Regions from separate parts of the Homo sapiens genome. Here region 2 is linked to region 1. Evidence: promoter capture Hi-C in 16 types of primary human blood cells and fetal thymus (Javierre and others, 2016). All regions are on one chromosome and are shown on one strand. Each heading gives the region's core, a stretch centred on a gene start or on the middle of the fragment in contact. The rest is flanking DNA. Distances are from core to core; before and after follow the strand shown.

The links. Contacts are between HindIII fragments. The CHiCAGO score rates a contact against its expected background, and 5 or more counts as called.
Region 2: a fragment that was not itself captured here is called in contact with the fragment with the promoter of GPR20 in region 1 in 1 of 17 cell types (neutrophils); the score reaches 6.1 in neutrophils.

The regions. Positions count from the first base shown.
Region 1 is chr8:141,362,266-141,370,088 of GRCh38, forward strand. It overlaps GPR20 (G protein-coupled receptor 20), which reads right to left and starts at 5,021. Exons shown (of 2, transcript NM_005293.3): 1 at 4,936-5,021. RefSeq lists an enhancer at 5,784-6,333 and a silencer at 6,698-6,880. The HindIII fragment of the contact is 50,298 bases long and covers 1-7,823 here.
Region 2 is chr8:141,182,322-141,190,144 of GRCh38, forward strand. It overlaps DENND3 (DENN domain containing 3), which reads left to right. Exons shown (of 23, transcript NM_001352890.3): 18 at 2,818-2,957; 19 at 6,665-6,825. Among named protein-coding and RNA genes, the nearest start is that of DENND3-AS1, 56 kb to the left of the region's middle. RefSeq lists enhancers at 241-350, 1,111-1,160, 1,241-1,380, 2,081-3,035. The HindIII fragment of the contact is 3,747 bases long and covers 1-3,124 here.

The DNA of each region.
Region 1 (7,823 bases), core at 3,771-6,270:
CTCCCTGGGCTGCCTCTCTCTGGTGCATCCTCCCAGGGCACCCTGCGCTTCCTCAATCCCAGGGTTCATCCCACGGCGCTGCTATGTGCTGCAGGCTTCCCTGTTGGACTCTGAGCATCTTGAGGCGGGGCTGTGGGTGGGGGCTGAGCTCCCATCTGTTCCACCAGCCCAGCACCCAGATTGGCCTGGCAGAGAGCAGCACCCGTCTTCCCCCTTGTCTGAATGAACGCCCTGAGCAAGCCTCATCAGGGCTGGCAAGGTGTGGCCTGGTTTCTCAACCTGGCATTCAGGGTGAATGCCACCTGGCCTGGCCCCCTCTGAAACCTGCCTACCCAGTGTCTTGGTACTGGTCTGGAATTGGCTTCCACCCCCAGCCCCATCGTCACTACCCATGAGTCCTCCCAGCCGAGCAAGGCTGACACCTCCTCCCGGAAGCCCGTCCTAATCACTCTGACCATTGTGTCCACACTTACATTCCTTCCCACCCTCTATCTCCCATCACCACTCTTTCTTTCTTTCTTTTTTTTTTTTGAGACGGAGTGCTGTGGCGAAATGTCGGCTCACTGCAACCTCCACTTCCTGGGTTCAAGTGAGTCTCATGCCTCAGCCTCTGGAGTAGCTGGGATTACAGGTGCCCGTGCCACACCTGGGTAATTTTTGTATTTTTGGTACAGATGGGGTTTCACCATGTTGGCCAAGGTAGTCTCAAACTCCTGGCCTCAAGTGGTTTGCCCACCTTGGCCTCCCAAACTACTGGGATTACAGGCGTGAGCTACTGCGCCCGGCCCCATCACCACTCTTGATAGCAATGGTCTTTGGTTTGCAGGCCAGCTCTACCACCCGCCACCTTCGAGGCCTCGGGCAAATCATTTCATCACTGGGAGCCTCAGTTCCCTCACCTGGGACTTTGGGAACCATATTTGTTGAATGAATGAATGAAATCAGGCAGGGTGGCTGGACTAAGTGAGAAATACTGCAGACACCCCCAACATGGGAGGCGTGCGATATAAGAGCACGGGAGGCTCCTGGTTTTGGCACCTGGATGGGGCCCTGTGTGGACCAGCCCGCTCACACGTGGGGAGAGGCCAGGGCCAACACGTGTGCTCAGTGCAGGACTTCTCAGAGCCTTTGTGAAACTCACGGTCCTGGGAACTTCCAAGGGGTGGGAGCGAGCATCGAGCATGGAAGCTATTTGACCCTGTCCCCTCCCTGGGGGTTCCTGCTCCATCCATCCCAATGGCCACACCACTAGTCCATGCCCAGAGCACTGATGGGGGCTGCTGCCTCCCTGCCCTCACCCACAGCTTGTTGAATTTCTGCTGGGCACCCGGCCATGGAAGGCCAGACCCCTGGGCTTGGGGTGCTGGCACCTGCCCAGAGGCCTCCAGCGGGGCACCAGGGTCATGCCGGCCTCCGTCCTTGGCCGGTGGGTGGGGAGGGCTATGTCCTCTCTTCCCTGGGCTCCTCTCAAACCCACCCCACCAACCTGGGAGTTCTCTCTTGGCTGCCCAGCAGCCTGTCTGCCTCTGTCCTGCCACATGTGAGACCAGGCAGCAGAGTGGCCCCGGCCCCAGGGCAGCAGATGGCCCAGGGTGGCTGTTGAGCCTGCCTGGGGGTCTGGCTCAGGACCCTGTGTGCTGTCTGTGGACGTGTGGAGGACGGGCCCAGCCTTTTCCCCACAGAGGGGCTCTGAGCACCTGCTAAGGGCGCTTTGCATCCACACAGCAATCCCAGGTTTTACAGATGAGGAACCGGAGGCCCAGAGGGGTGAGTGGTGTCCTCACGGTTACCCAGCATGGAGCTGGTGGGGCTGGGAATCAGACCCAGGTCCACTGGCAGGACCCGGCACAGGCCGGAGTGGAGCAGAGTGCGGGCTGGGGAGCAGAGGGGCTGGATTAGGCATCTCTGGACCGGGAGTTTGTGCACAAGGGGATTCTCCGGGCCCTGAGGCCGCATGTGTGACCACGGGTCTGTGTGTGCTTGAGCCTGCACCCCAGACGGCGTGGCCCTCATGGCCTTCCAGGGCTAAAATAGCCATGATTCGGGGAACTGTCTGCCTGTTTATTTTTATGATTATTCTTGGTTTCACAGCATCTGCTTTTGAATATCATCTGCTGTTTTTGATAAGTCTGAGCCTCCGTTTCTTCCACCAAGAGGCAGGTGGGTGCTTGCTGAGCTCTCCAAATGGGGTCAGACTCACCCCAGGTCACCTAGCAAGTCCCAGGTGACCCTGGCCAGAAGCCAAGTCTTTCTCCCTGTCCCCCACGCCCACAGGCCAGGGCTCCCTCCACCCCAGTGCAGAGAGAGACGTCACTGGTGGGCACAGACTGAGCTCTGTGGGGAAGGACACCTGGGCCCCATCTGACCCGACTCTGCCTCAGTTCCACCAGCTAAGAGCCCTCTTGCTGAGACTGCGGCTCTAACGGAAACACCAGTGTCTCTGGGAGGGGCATAGCCAGTTGGAGGTCCTGCATGTCACCTGCCAGCCCCTCCCTGCCTCCCCATCATTGGGTTCATTGCTCACCTCTAGCTGGGTGTCTCTGGGAGGGGCATGGCCAGTTGGAGGTCCTGCGTGTCACCCACCAGCCCCTCCTTTCCTCCCCATCACCGAGTTCATTGCTCACCTCTAGCTGGGATAGCCGTAGCTGCAGCAGCTCCTGAAACCCCTCCCCAACCTCAGCCTCTCCAGGAGCTGCTGGGACAGGCATTCTGTCATGTGCACCTGCCTGGCCTCAGCCTGGTCCTTCCGCCTGAAGCTCCTCAGCCTGGTCCTCTCAGCCTCTTCCCTCTGCATGTGCTGTTCCTTCTGCCCGGAATGCTGTTTCTCTCCCTGTGCCACCTGGTGAAGGCTCCGGGCACCCACAGTCATTGTTCCACAGAGCTCTCCCTGAGCCCCTCTGATGCCCTAGTGCCCTGGATGCCCCTGCCCCAGGGGGAGAGCTATGATCCCACAATCTGAAGGGCACCCGCTGGGCTCATCCTTCCCAGGGTCTTATTGACTTCCCTCAAGATGCCCCTGGGTGGGTGTTTCTGGCCCCACTGTGCCTGTGGGGAACCAATACAGAGGGGCTAAGTCATGTGTCCGGGCTCACCCAGCTGGGGTGCAGGAGGGGCTGAGCTCTGCCTCAATCTGCCTGCTGGCACTTTGTCCCAGTGCCTGGGATCAGCCTTCTGCGGCACCCAGCCCTGTGTGTGGAGGGAATCAGAGGCCCCAGGCCACACAGCCCCGTGCAGTTTGGAGGTGTCAGACCAGGACTTAGACCCCAGCACTGCGGGCACAAATGGGTCCCAGGCAGACCTGGCCCCACCTTTCCGAGCTGACAGCTCAGGGTAGGGTGGGAGGTGGCTGGTCACGGCCGGGATGGGCCTCAGGACAATCAGAGGGAAGAGCGCTCCCGGCAGCAGGAAGGGCACAGTGAGCATGAAGGGCCAGAGGTGGGAAGGAGAGTCTGTGTTCAGGGCTCTGTGAGACACCGGGGGCGTGGGGAGGGCTTTGGGACGTATGGTGAGGGGATCAACTTAAGGTTCTTTGGGCCCTGACGCCCCTCCTCAGGGAGGCCCTCCAGAGCCCACAGCCCCGCACGCCTGCACCGCCTGGCTTCCTTCGCAGTGCCCTGCCACGCGCAGTTCCCTATGTCCCTGCTTTCCTGTTCGCTGTGCTTCCCTCACTGAACTGGAGTGCCTCAGGGGCCCTGGCCTTGGCTGGCCCCTCTGAGTCACTGAGTCACTGCTGAGTGATGGAGTGGATGATTTTAGAATACCCCTCTGATCTCCTTGAGCCTCAGTTTCCTCATCTATAAAGAGGAGATGCTAATACCACTTAACAAGAAGACAATGAAGCCACCCCGTGGGCTCCAGGAGCTGCTCAGAAATGGTCCAAACTGCATGGCCCCCACGCCCGGCTCTCCAGCCGCAGACCCCGCCTTTGCTGATGGGCCCACACCGTGTGGCTCAGAGAGGGGCAGCGACTTGCCACGGCCACTCAGCAGACCGCCCTGGAGCCCAGCGACTGGATGAGTCCTGGGGGGAGAGGGGAGGGAAGACCCAGGATGACCAGCTGTTGAAGGAAGAAGACAGGGCAAGTGGACAGGCCCAGCCTCCTGCGGGGTGCATTCCCCGTCCTGCGAGGTCGCCAGCTGCTCCACGTCTGCCCCGCCAGCACCCTGGCTGCTGGCCAGTTCCCAGCCCGCTGCCCCCTCGGGACCCTGTCCTGCCGCCTTCTCACAGCGCAGTCCCAGTGCGAGCTTCGCGGGGCTGGAGCCAGCTTCTAGGTCCACACTGAGGGCTGGCAAGCAAGCCTTCCCTGGGACTCAGTTTCCCCACCCCTAAGGGGTAGAGACAGCACCAAGGCTACTGCAGAGGGCCTGAGCTGTGGGATGGCAGGACGGGCACTCTGAAGAGGGAGCATGGCGCTTGGAGCCCATGCCCACAAAGCCCTCACCATGGCCCTGCCCCAGCTGCGGGGTGGTGGTGGCTGAGGCCCCAGAGCCTGCCAAGTGCCTCTGGGGTCCCCCAACTCTGTCCCTGGCTTGGCCTGTGGGCCACCCTGCTGCCTTGCCAGGTGGGGAAACCAAGACCCAGCTCTGGGCACCCAGCAGATGCTCGGTGAGTGTTGAACGGAGGGATGAATGAGTGAATGAATGAAATCCAGAGTTGGGTGGGCACCTAGCAGCGCAGCTCCCCCTTATGCAGCCAGCCCAACTCACGCCCATGTTCTCCCTCAGGTCTCTGTTTTCTCATCTGAGAAATGGCTCCCTGTCCAGCAGGACCTGCTCTGAGCTCTCCCCAGCCCGGATCTGGAGGCAGTTTCTCTGCCCTGCCCTTCCCACTCCTGCTTGGCTGGGGGTGAGAACCCCTGCAGGGAGCAGCTCAGGAGCCTCCTATCTAGGGAAGCTGGGGAGAGGGAGGCTGGGGCCAGCCCACAGGGGAACTTACCGCGCTTCACCCGGGCAGGCTGGAGATGGGAGTCCTCAGCTCTCAGCTCTGCATGCAGCCCGGACCTCGCCTTCCTACGGCCTGACGTCAGGCCAGCGCTTGGGGCTCCTTTTGGGCAAAGGCAGGGTGGGGGCGGGGCAGGCTCCTTCCCCGCCCCCAGGAGGAGTCAAGGCTCAGAGCCTGAGGGACGGTGCCTGGGGCACCAGAGTCCCCACACCCACTGGAGACAGAAGAAGAAACCGAGGCACAGAGGGGCCTGGGGCACCAGAGTCCCCACACCCACTGGAGACAGAGGGGGAAACTGAGGCACCGAGGAGCTGAGCCTCAGCTGCACCATCCAGGAGGTGGTGGCTGGCACTTGTGTGTGCCGTGTGCAGGGCAGGAGGTGGGAAACTGAGGCACGGAGGGGCTAAGCCTCAGCTGCACCATCCAGGAGACAGTGGCTGGCACTTGTGTGTGCTGTGTGCGGGGCAGGAGGGGGAAACTGAGGCACGGAGGGGCTGAGTCTCAGCTGCACCATCCAGGAGATGGTGGCTGGCACTTGTGCGTGCTGTGTGCGGGGCAGGAGGGGAAAACTGAGGCACAGAGGGGCTGAGTCTCAGCTGCACCATCCAGGAGACGGTGGCTGGCACTTGTGTGTGCTGTGTGGGGGGCAGGAGGGGGAAACTGAGGCACGGAGGGGCTGAGTCTCAGCTGCACCATCCAGGAGATGGTGGCTGGCACTTGTGCGTGCTGTGTGCGGGACAGGAGGTGGGAGCACACGAAAGCCCAATTTCCTTCCCGGGAGGGGGCATGTGCATGGTAGCTTCAGCCCACGCAAGCCTGGGTTCCTGCATGGCTCTCTGTTTTGCATGTGTCCTGGGTTTGGCTGTGTCTGTGTGTACCCATGACCGACAGCCTGCACACCTGGCATCTGGGCCTCTGTTTGCACCCATGCACCGGTGGCATGTGGCATGTGGGGTCAGGTGTGTGGGAAAGACCTGGACGTGACCCAGGCCAGCAGGTGGGGAGAGCGTGTGGGACCCGGACCTCAGTGCTGGAGGAAGCGTGAGCTCATCAACAGGCTTGATCCCAGAGGGCTGCTGGAGGGCCACTCTCCCCAGACAGCTTCAGAGCCAGGAGGCCTTGTGGCCAGCCTGGGGTGGCAGCGGGGGTTGTCGGGGAGCGGTTGGGGCCATTTAGTTAGTGTCTCCTCTGCCGAGAGCACCATCTCCTCTTGTTCCCATCCCGTGTGCTTCTGCTGATACTCACACTTTAACCTTCCAGCCGCCTGAGTGCCGAGGCCCTGCTGAGTGGGTTGTACTGCACACCGGAGACTCAGGGAAGGCTCCCCAAGGGAGGGGCTGGGCCTTCCCGAGCTCAGGCTGGTTGTAATGCAGACCAACAGGAGAGAGTAGGTGGGCCCTAGGGTCCTGACCCAGCCTGCTGGGGAGGGATGCCGTCTGGGAAGGCTTCCTGGAAGGGGCAGAGGGAGGTATAACAGGAGGCAGGCAGCCCAGATGGGCAGAGGGACAGGAGGCCATCAGAATATTTCCTGGGGAGCAAAGCTGGGAGTGGGCAGGGGACTTCTACACTGAGTCTCAGCAGCCTCTATGGGTACCAGAGTGCTGCAACAGGGAGCCATTGAAAGTTCTGGGAGAGGATGGTTTCTTCACTCTGGAGCAGCCTCCCTGCGGCTGCAGGGCTGAGCCCACAGGCTGCAATTATCTCCTTTAGAACATCGTTGTGTCTGTTTTAGCTGGGGAAACTGAGGCCCAGAGAGGCACAGGAGTCTCTGGCCACCAGCCTCTTGCACCTCTCTGGACCAGGACTGGCTCCTGGCAGGCAGGGTTTCACCGGGCTTGTGGAAGGTGGGGGTGGATGCAATGTCATTTTTGTGTGGGGGTGGCCTGGAGGCAGCCCAGATTGGGCAGGGCTGGAGCCAGAGGAGGCTCAGATTTCCTGAGCAGGCGAGGGTGGCTGAGTCACCGCACCAGTGCCAGGCCTCATGCCCACCTCTGAGGGCCTGGGGCTCCAGCCTTGCACTCTCAGGCTTGTTCTCAGAGAAATCTCAGAGACGGTCCCCCAGCAAACAGCGGGGAACTGCCTGGGGAGGGGTCACAGCCCACGCCAGCCTCCCTGACTCCTCCCCCAGGGAGACTCTTCTCAGCAGGACCCAGGGATCCTCTTGGGGGGACACCAGGGATGGGGGTCCCGAGCTCAGGGCCAACACTCCACAACCCTCAGAGGAGACAGGGCACAGGGACAATTTCCTCCTTGTCATCTTTATCAGGCTGGCAGGTCAGGCCAGGCTGTCTGTGACTGGGGTCAGGGGTCAGAGGTCAGAGAGTGGCTGTGCCCAGGGTCAGGACCCCTTCAGGTGTGTCTGACTGGCCCTTCGCAGGGCAGGACTGCTCATCCTGGGCTCTGGCACACTTTGCAGGGTGGGAGGGGCCCCTTGGGCAGACACTGTAGGGAACTGGGCCTGGTGGAGAGCCCTCTCAAGCCCATGGAAGCATCCTTGGAGGCCCTGCCAGCGGTGAGGCATCAGCAGCCTACCATTCCTCCTTCCCCAAGGGACAGGGTGCAGGGAAGCGCCACAATGATATCTCCACATGAGCCGCCAGCAGGGCTACCAGGCCACCCTGGGCAGGAGGCAGAAGTGGCCCCTTGTGAACCTCCATGGGAGCCAGGTGGACCCATGGCTCCTGTCCTCCACCCTTGGCCTGTGACGCCAAGGCCCTCTCGCTGTGGCAGCTGCAGTTGGGAATCCCATAACGCTGCAATCAAGACTGACAAGCCCCGCCCATCATGGGCAGTGCTGGCACTGTAGGGTCCCCATCCTGAGGGATGAAGCCAACAACGGGCCACTGAGCAGTCCCCGGGGTGGAGAGGGCTCAGGATAATGG
Region 2 (7,823 bases), core at 1-2,500, 180 kb before region 1:
CCAAGAAACCCAGGAACGCGATAGACCCTGGCTGAGTGAGCAGGCAGCGTCATCAGGGCCGCCCCGCGTGAGCCCTACCTGATGTGTCTAAGCCAGGCTCTGTGCTGACTTCGCCAGAGATGACTCCACAGACCAAGATACTTTGACCGTGGCATTTGAATACATGGTATTTTTAGGTCCCGGTTGGTTTCCCTGAAATGAAACTCACTCTGAGCTTCCTGTTGTGACGGGCGAGGAGTTCAGGCGGCTTCCCCTCCAGGAGCATCTCGAAGGCCTGCAGAGAGCGTGCAAAGCAGCCGTGGGGAATGGGGAAACCGCCTTTTCCTGTGGCTGCCGATTCTGGAAGGGGTGGCCGAGAAGCTGGTAGCCGAGCAGGGCTTTTGCAAGCCTTGTGAGATTGCAGGGACAAGAGGTGGGGTCAGGCCCCATCAAGAAGGGGGAGTCTTGTTATTCCCATTAGCTTGGGGCTGGGTCTCCGACAGGTTCCTAGGAGTTAGGAGAACCAGCCCTGAGGCCAGGCCACAGGTCAGCTCAGGCTCTGCCCATGGGGAGCGTGCCTCTCAGAGACGGCAGTGTCTCACCCATGGGAGCAACAGACCACTGGAATCGCACCCCAGAAAGACCGGGAGGCCTGCCCTTCTGGACTCAGGACGGAGGCAGCACTGCAGGGCGGGGGGTCGCTTGAATATCCTCAGGGGAAAGGTGAAACCTCGCCCCTTCACACTGCCCTGCGGTCAGGCCCAAGGGGGCCGAAACCTCAACGCGGTGGTAAAAGGCAAATGTGAACAATGAAAGCAAGCAGACTTCTAGGTGATAGGGTAGAAGAATATTTTCATGACTTTATGGTAAAGAAAAAAATGCATAAATTATATATAAAATACCATAAAGGAAAAGAATGTTGAATTTGACTATATTAAAAGCAATGACTTTATTATTTTTATTTTTTCTGAGACAGGGTCTGACTCTGTCACCCAGGTGCAGTGGCGCGATCACACCTCACTGCAACCTCTGCCTCCTGGGCTCTAGCGATCCTCCGCCCTCGGCCTCCTGATTAGCTGGACTGCAGGTGCACACCACTATGCCCAGCCAATTTTTGTATTTTTTTTTTTTTTTTTTGTAGAGATGGAGTTTTGCCGTATTGCTCAGGCTGGTCTTGAACTCCTGAGCTTGAGCAGTCTGCCGGTTTTGGACTCCAAAGCGCTGGGTTAGAGGCGTGAGCCACCACAACTGGCCAAAAGCAATGATTTTAAAAAGAAGACACTTTTTTTTTCCTCCTTTCAAATGAGCTGGTTTAATTCACGGTGACACAAAATTGAGGGTAGAAGACCAAAGAGCGCCCTCTGGCAGGCTCAGGTGGGAATGACGGGTGAGAAGCCACTGAAGACGTCCGGTGACACTGTCAGTTTTTTGTTTTGTTTTTTTTTTTTTTTAATTTAAAAAAAAAAAGAAAAGTTTATGCTTGAAAGTGCAACAGGCTCCAGGGCAACGCTCACTCTAGCTGAAGATGGCAAAAGCTGTCCTGGCGGGGGTGCAGGTGTTGAAACAGGAGTGGAGTCCAGGCCGCCACCGCCCAGGCAGAGGGAGCAGCGTGCTTTCCGCCAGGGGTCTTAGTTCCAGCTGTGGCTGGGCCTCCCTGCGGCCTGTGCTTTCGGCCCCTTGAGGTTCTGGTCTGTTTTGCTTTCTGCTGGAAGCCTCATCATCTCTGTCCCTCTCCTGGGCCTGCTTCTTGGGCTGTCTCAGAGGCTTCTTGCCATCTTCATGGCCGGACACGGCGCCTACAGCCTCTTCCCCAGACCCTGCCACAGGAAATGGACAGAAGACACTTTTGAGAGGGTGAAAATGTAAGCTGCAGACTGGGAAGGATCTTTAAAATGGGTGCTGCTAAAATCATTGCTTTTAATGTAGTCAGATTCACCAGTCTTTTGCTTTATGGTATTTTTATATGTCATACGTAATTTATGAATACAGCACCATGGAGTCAGTTAGGGGCTCATATCCAGAACACCGGAACAGCTGGCCGGGCGTGCCTGTGGTCCCAGTGAGGTGGGAGGGTGGCCAGAGCCCTGGACTCGGAGCCTGTGGTTTGCTGTGATCGCACCTGTGAACACTGCTGCACTCCAGCCCGGGCAACATGGCAAGACCTCGTCTATTAAAAAGTAAAAAAAAATAAAAATAAAAAAAAATAACAGCCACAAACTAGGGAGAACGAAAAACAGACACTTCCCACAAGAGGGCATGGGGATGGCCAGTTCAAGCCATCAGGCTCATTAGCAATTAGAGAAATGCAATTAAACCACAATTTAAAAGCCAAAAGCTCCACACCCTTAGAATGGCCGAAATTAAAAAGATGGACGGACGCCAGCAAGTGTTGGGAAAGACGCGGAGCCCGCTGCACATGAGGGTGTGGGGGGCACCATGGCCCCTGCCGCCGTCTCTCCAGCTGCCCTCCCTCCCTGCCTCCCTCCCTCTGTGTCCACCTGCTCCTCTTCCAGTTCCCTCTGCCTGGCTGTTTCCTCTAGTGAATGCTCACTCAGCTGGCAGGTCCTGGCTTAGCAAAGCTCACAGGCATTCGGCTCTGCATCTGCCTGCGGCTCTGACCCTGTCTTTGTGGCCCTCTCACCAGCCAGCTGCCCCCCTTGACTCTGAGCTCCCAGAGGGCAGGGAAGCCTCTGCCTGGGCACGTCTTTGTACGTACAGCACCTAACATGGGCCTGGCGCTTAGGAGGGCCCAGGAGGCACCTGAGTAAGGGCACCAGTCACCTGCTGCTACAGCAGAAGTGTTTCCTCCTAACAGTTTTGTGCTGCTCTCCTCTTTAGGGCATCTTGACCCAGCCGAAAAAGTTGAAGATGCTCACCCCAAGTTATGGTGTGCTCTGAGCGAAGGCAAGGTGACCGTGTTCAATGCTTCTTCATGGACCATCCACCAGCACTCCTTTAAAGTGGGCACTGCAAAAGTGGTGAGTACACGAAGCGTCAGGAAAGAAGCCTCTGAATTCACGTGATTTCTGAAACCCAAGTGTGTTCATCCATATTCGACAGTAGGATACAAGCTATTCCACAGCCTCACTCGGTTTCTGTAAACAGGGGGTCTTAACTTTCACCTGGAGTTTTCAAATTAAATGTAAGCTTGTTCCAAACTTCTACTTACACGTCCTTATTGAAGGAGAAGATAATGGCTTTGACTTTCTCATCTAAAAACAGATTTCAGGCCCCCATCTAAAAATAGATTGCAGGGGCTCACACCTCTAATCTCAGCACTTTGGGAGGCTGAGGTGGGTGGATTGCCTTGAGCCCAGGAGTTTGAGACCAGCCTGGGCAACAGAGTGAGACCCCATCTCTACAAAAACTACAAAAATTAGCCGGGCATGGTGGAGCGTGCCTGTAGTCCCAGTTACTTGGGAAGCTGAGGTGGTAGGATCGCTGAGCCTGGGAGGTCGAGGCTGCAGTGAGCCAAGATCGCGCCACTGCACTCCAGCCTGGGTGACAGAGCCATACCCTGTCTCAAACAGACAAATAATAATAATAATAAAATAATAAAAATCGACGTCAGTTCTGTGAAGTGGAGCCATTGTGGTCTCTGCCTGCTTATTACAGGCTTCACACACTTTGGGAACAATTTCCTTCTTTTTTTTCTTTTTTGAGACAGGGTCTTGCTCTGTTGCCCAGGCTGGAGTGCAGTGGTTCAGTCATGGCTCACTGCAGCCTCGACCTTCTGGGCTCAAGGGATCCACCTCGGTCTCCTGAGTAACTGGGACTACAGGTGCATGCTACCATGCCTGGCTAATTTTGTATTTTTTGTAGAGATGAGGTTTTGCCACGCTGCCCAGGCTGGGAACGATGTCTTCCATCCTGTACTGCAGCACTAAGGTTCCCAGGGACCAGGGCCTTAAAATGAACCTGCAGTGTTTCCTGGGAACCCTGGTGTTTCCTGGTGGCACAGTGGTTACTGGGTCTCTTTTGGAGCAAAAGAGGAGACAGCTGCCTCTGCAGTGACTTCAGTGTTATCCACCTGTCCCCACGTGCCAGGTGGCAGAGACCAGGGCCCAGCAAAACTCAGTGTCCACTCGTCACACATTATTCCTCTCACTTAGAGCAAGCTTGTCCAACCTGTGGCCTGCAGGCTGTACGTGGCCCAGGACGGCTTTGAATGAGGCCCAACACAAATTTGTAAACTTTCTTAAAACATATGTTGAGTTTTTTTTGCAATCTTTTTCCTTCTAGCTCATCAGCGATCGTTAATGTTAGTGTATTTTATGTGTGGCCCAAGACAATTCTTCTTCCACTGTGGCTCAGGGAAGCCACAAGAGTGCACACCCCTGATTTAAAGCAAGTTTGAATTGTTTCTGATAATTTTAAAACAAGTGCAACTGTTAATACATTTTTAGTAGTGTGTCCTTGGCAGTGCCATGGTGTGTCGCTTCTTCCATGACCATGGTATCTTGAGTGTGGAAGCTGGGATTCCTGCCCTGCTCATCCCTCCAGGCCCCCAGCGGCCCCTCCTGCCTGCAGACCATCATTTCTTGGGGATTTTCCCTGTTTGCCCGTCAGCGCTGTGAGCTGCCCCTCCCTGCGGATCTGTGTGCGCTTCCCTGTCGCCCGAGAGGCCGCTGAGTAGCTCCCCGTGCTCTGAGACCCCACACTCCCCCGCACCGTGGCCTGCGCGCCCTTTGTCCATGTTTCTCCTGTTCTTGCTCATGGATTTGCAGATGACGTTCACATTTAAATTGCATTTTATAGTTTTCAAAATATTTTCGCATCTACACTCTCCTCCTATCTGGTCACCCTCCAAGCAGCCACCCCATCATGGGATCTGCTGAGAAATCCTCATGCCTTACTCCTTGAGCATGATAGGATTTTTTTTTTTTTACATGTTTAATGTGAAAAGAACACTCCAGTGGAGTATATACCTAAGTATATATTAGGCATTGGCTGGTACCATTTTTTTTTTTTTGACAGGGTCCCTCTCCCATTGCCCGTGGCTGGAGTGTAGTGGCACAATCGCTGCTTACTGCAGCCTGGACCTCCCGAGTAGCTGGGGCTATATAGGTGCGCACCACCACACCCGGCTAATTTTTGTATTTTGAGTAGAGATGGGGTTTCACCGTGCTGCTCAGGCTGGTCTCAAACTCCTGGGCTCAAGCAGTCCTCCCGCCTCGGCCCCGCCAAAGTGCTGGGATTACAGGTGTGAGCCACTGCGCCCGGCCATGGTATCAGTTTTGATGGCTGTGTTCCCTTGTCTAAAAATAATGTGGGAAAATCCGTGGCACAGTATGTGCTTGCAAAACTGCTATAAAACAAATACTGTGAACTCAAATACATACCACCAAGAGGGTGGGACCACTCTTGAGATACCTGAATAGCAAACTTTACATGTTAGAAGGTAATAAGAGCCTGCTAAATCATTTCCCCCCATATTCAAATCATGAGCCTCAGATGATAAAGTAATAGGATCCATGATACAGTAAAAATATTGACAAAAGTCTAGTAATGCTTTAAACCAAACAACAAAAAAAGGAAAAATTAGGGAAATTATTTTTCTAAATTTAATTTTTTTCAGTTCGTTCTTAGTTATAAGCATTTCAAGGCTGGGCGCAGTGGCTCACGCCTGTAATCCCAGCACTTTGGGGGGCCGAAGCAGGAGGATTGCTTGAGTCTAGGAGTTCGAGACCAGCCTGGGCAACGTGGGGAAACCCTATCTCTACTAAAACTGCCAAACATCAGCCAGGCGTGGTGGCATCAGCCAGGCGTGGTGGCATCAGCCAGGCGTGGTGGCCCATGGCTGTAGTCCCGGCTACTCGGGGGTCTGAAGCGGGAGAATCGCTTGAGCCGGGAGGCTGAGGCTGCAGTGAGCCATGATCATGCCACTGCACTCCAGCCTGGGTGGCAGAGTGAGACTCTGTCTCAAAATAAACAAACAAACAAAAATAAAAATTCTGATTTCAAAGAGTCTAAAAGCAATCATTATGTTGACTTTGCTTAGCTTAGACAGAAACCCTGAGCGCACTCTCTAGACACTGGGAGCACTGCCAGTTCTGCTTGTTCACATACAGTCGGTCTCATCATTTGGAGATTCCGTATTTGCAAATTCGACCACCTGCTAATATTTACTTGTAACTCCCAAAACAGATACTCGTGGTATTTTCTTGGTGATCCACAGACATCCACGTGCACAGACGGGGGAAAAACTTGAGTCACCTGATATGGATTTTCTGGGCCAACAAGTGTCCTCTCCTCGGCCTGATTGGTGCCACAGTTTTCACATTTTTTGCTTTTCGTTGGTGATTTTGCCATTTAAGAAAGCCTCAAGCATGGAGCTCCCTAAGCACAAGGAGGCGGTGACGTGTCTTGCAGAGAAAATGCATGTGTGAGATGAGCTTGGTTCAGGCCGCAGTGACAGTGCTGGCGGCCGTGGGTTTCGTGTTAATGAATCAATCATACGTAGTCAATAAGGTGTCTGTGAACAGAGCACGCGGAGAACAAGGTTATGCACTGATGGGTGGATGACAACGTCAGGGCCAGAGGCTCCCAGGACCCTGAGCCGGCGTGTCCCCTAGGAGCAGTGGTTCCATATCCGCTAATTCAGCACGTGCAGTAAATGTATAGAATATGACTTCACCAGTATCGAGACTGACTGATTTCTCACGTTCCCGTGGCCTCCTGTTAGAACTGCATGGTGATGGCCGACCAGAACCAGGTGTGGGTTGGCTCGGAAGACTCCGTCATCTACATCATCAACGTCCACAGCATGTCCTGCAACAAGCAGCTCACAGCCCACTGCTCCAGTGTCACGGATTTGATTGTGCAGGACGGACAGGAGGCACCCAGGTGCAGTAAGCTCTGCTGGGGAGAAGGGACTGTTTGGCTTGTGGGTGGGCAGAAGGCACAGCGGGTAGGGTTCCCAAGTCTTGTGCCCACAGGGGCCAGGCGGGGCGTACAGAGTGAAGTGGATCTAGAACGAGGAAAGCTGGGTGGTGTCCTCGGTCTGCTTCTGCTCACGGGTGCGGAGAACCCATGACACCAGTGTGGGCCAAGCGTGGTGATGAAGGCACCACACCCGGCCTTCCTGCTGAGCTTGCTGTGGGCACTGTGGCATGGGGCAGCCCCGAGAGGGCACAGCCTCCCAGAGGTGCACCAGCCATGGTGTCAGAAGCCTGGACTCGCCTGATAATCGCCTGAGTGCTCAGTGTTGGCCTTGGGCTGCCTGTTCGCTGCTGTTTCCCACAGTGGGAGCAGCACTGGACACGGGGCATCCAGGGAGACGGGAGGAGGAGGTGGGGTCTCCTTGAGCAGAGGCTCATGGTGGGGAAAGTGCACAAGGCTGCCCACTTGGTCCAGGCAGCCCCAGCCCTGGGTGAGGGGCCACACTCCCCACTCCTTTTTCCCCTGACTTAGTGTCGGGGGCGCCTGTGTCAGGCCCTGTTGGGGTGGGTAGGGAGGTGCTAGTCTGGAAGCAAAGCTGGCTCAGGAGGTTCAGGGGTGGCGCAGGGTGCAGGCTCGAGCCCAGCCCCGCCCACAGCCGCCTGCACCTGCAGCCAGCCCATGTCACCCGAGAGCTCTGAGGATCGTGCTGGCTCCCTGGTCCCTTGTGTGAACGGGGACCGCTGACGAGGTTCCATTTCAGTTCATGGTCATGTCATGGCTCTATGACAACACCTCATTGAGCCTGCGGCCCGCGGTGGTGGGAGAGGTGGGCGTCCCGAGAAACCCGCCTTTTCCTGCCGAGTCAGTTACATTTGAGCCAAGCCTGGCTGTGGCTGCATTCATAGCATGTTTGCATGTTATTATCATGTTTGCAGGTTACGTTTGCAGGTTATTATGTTTGC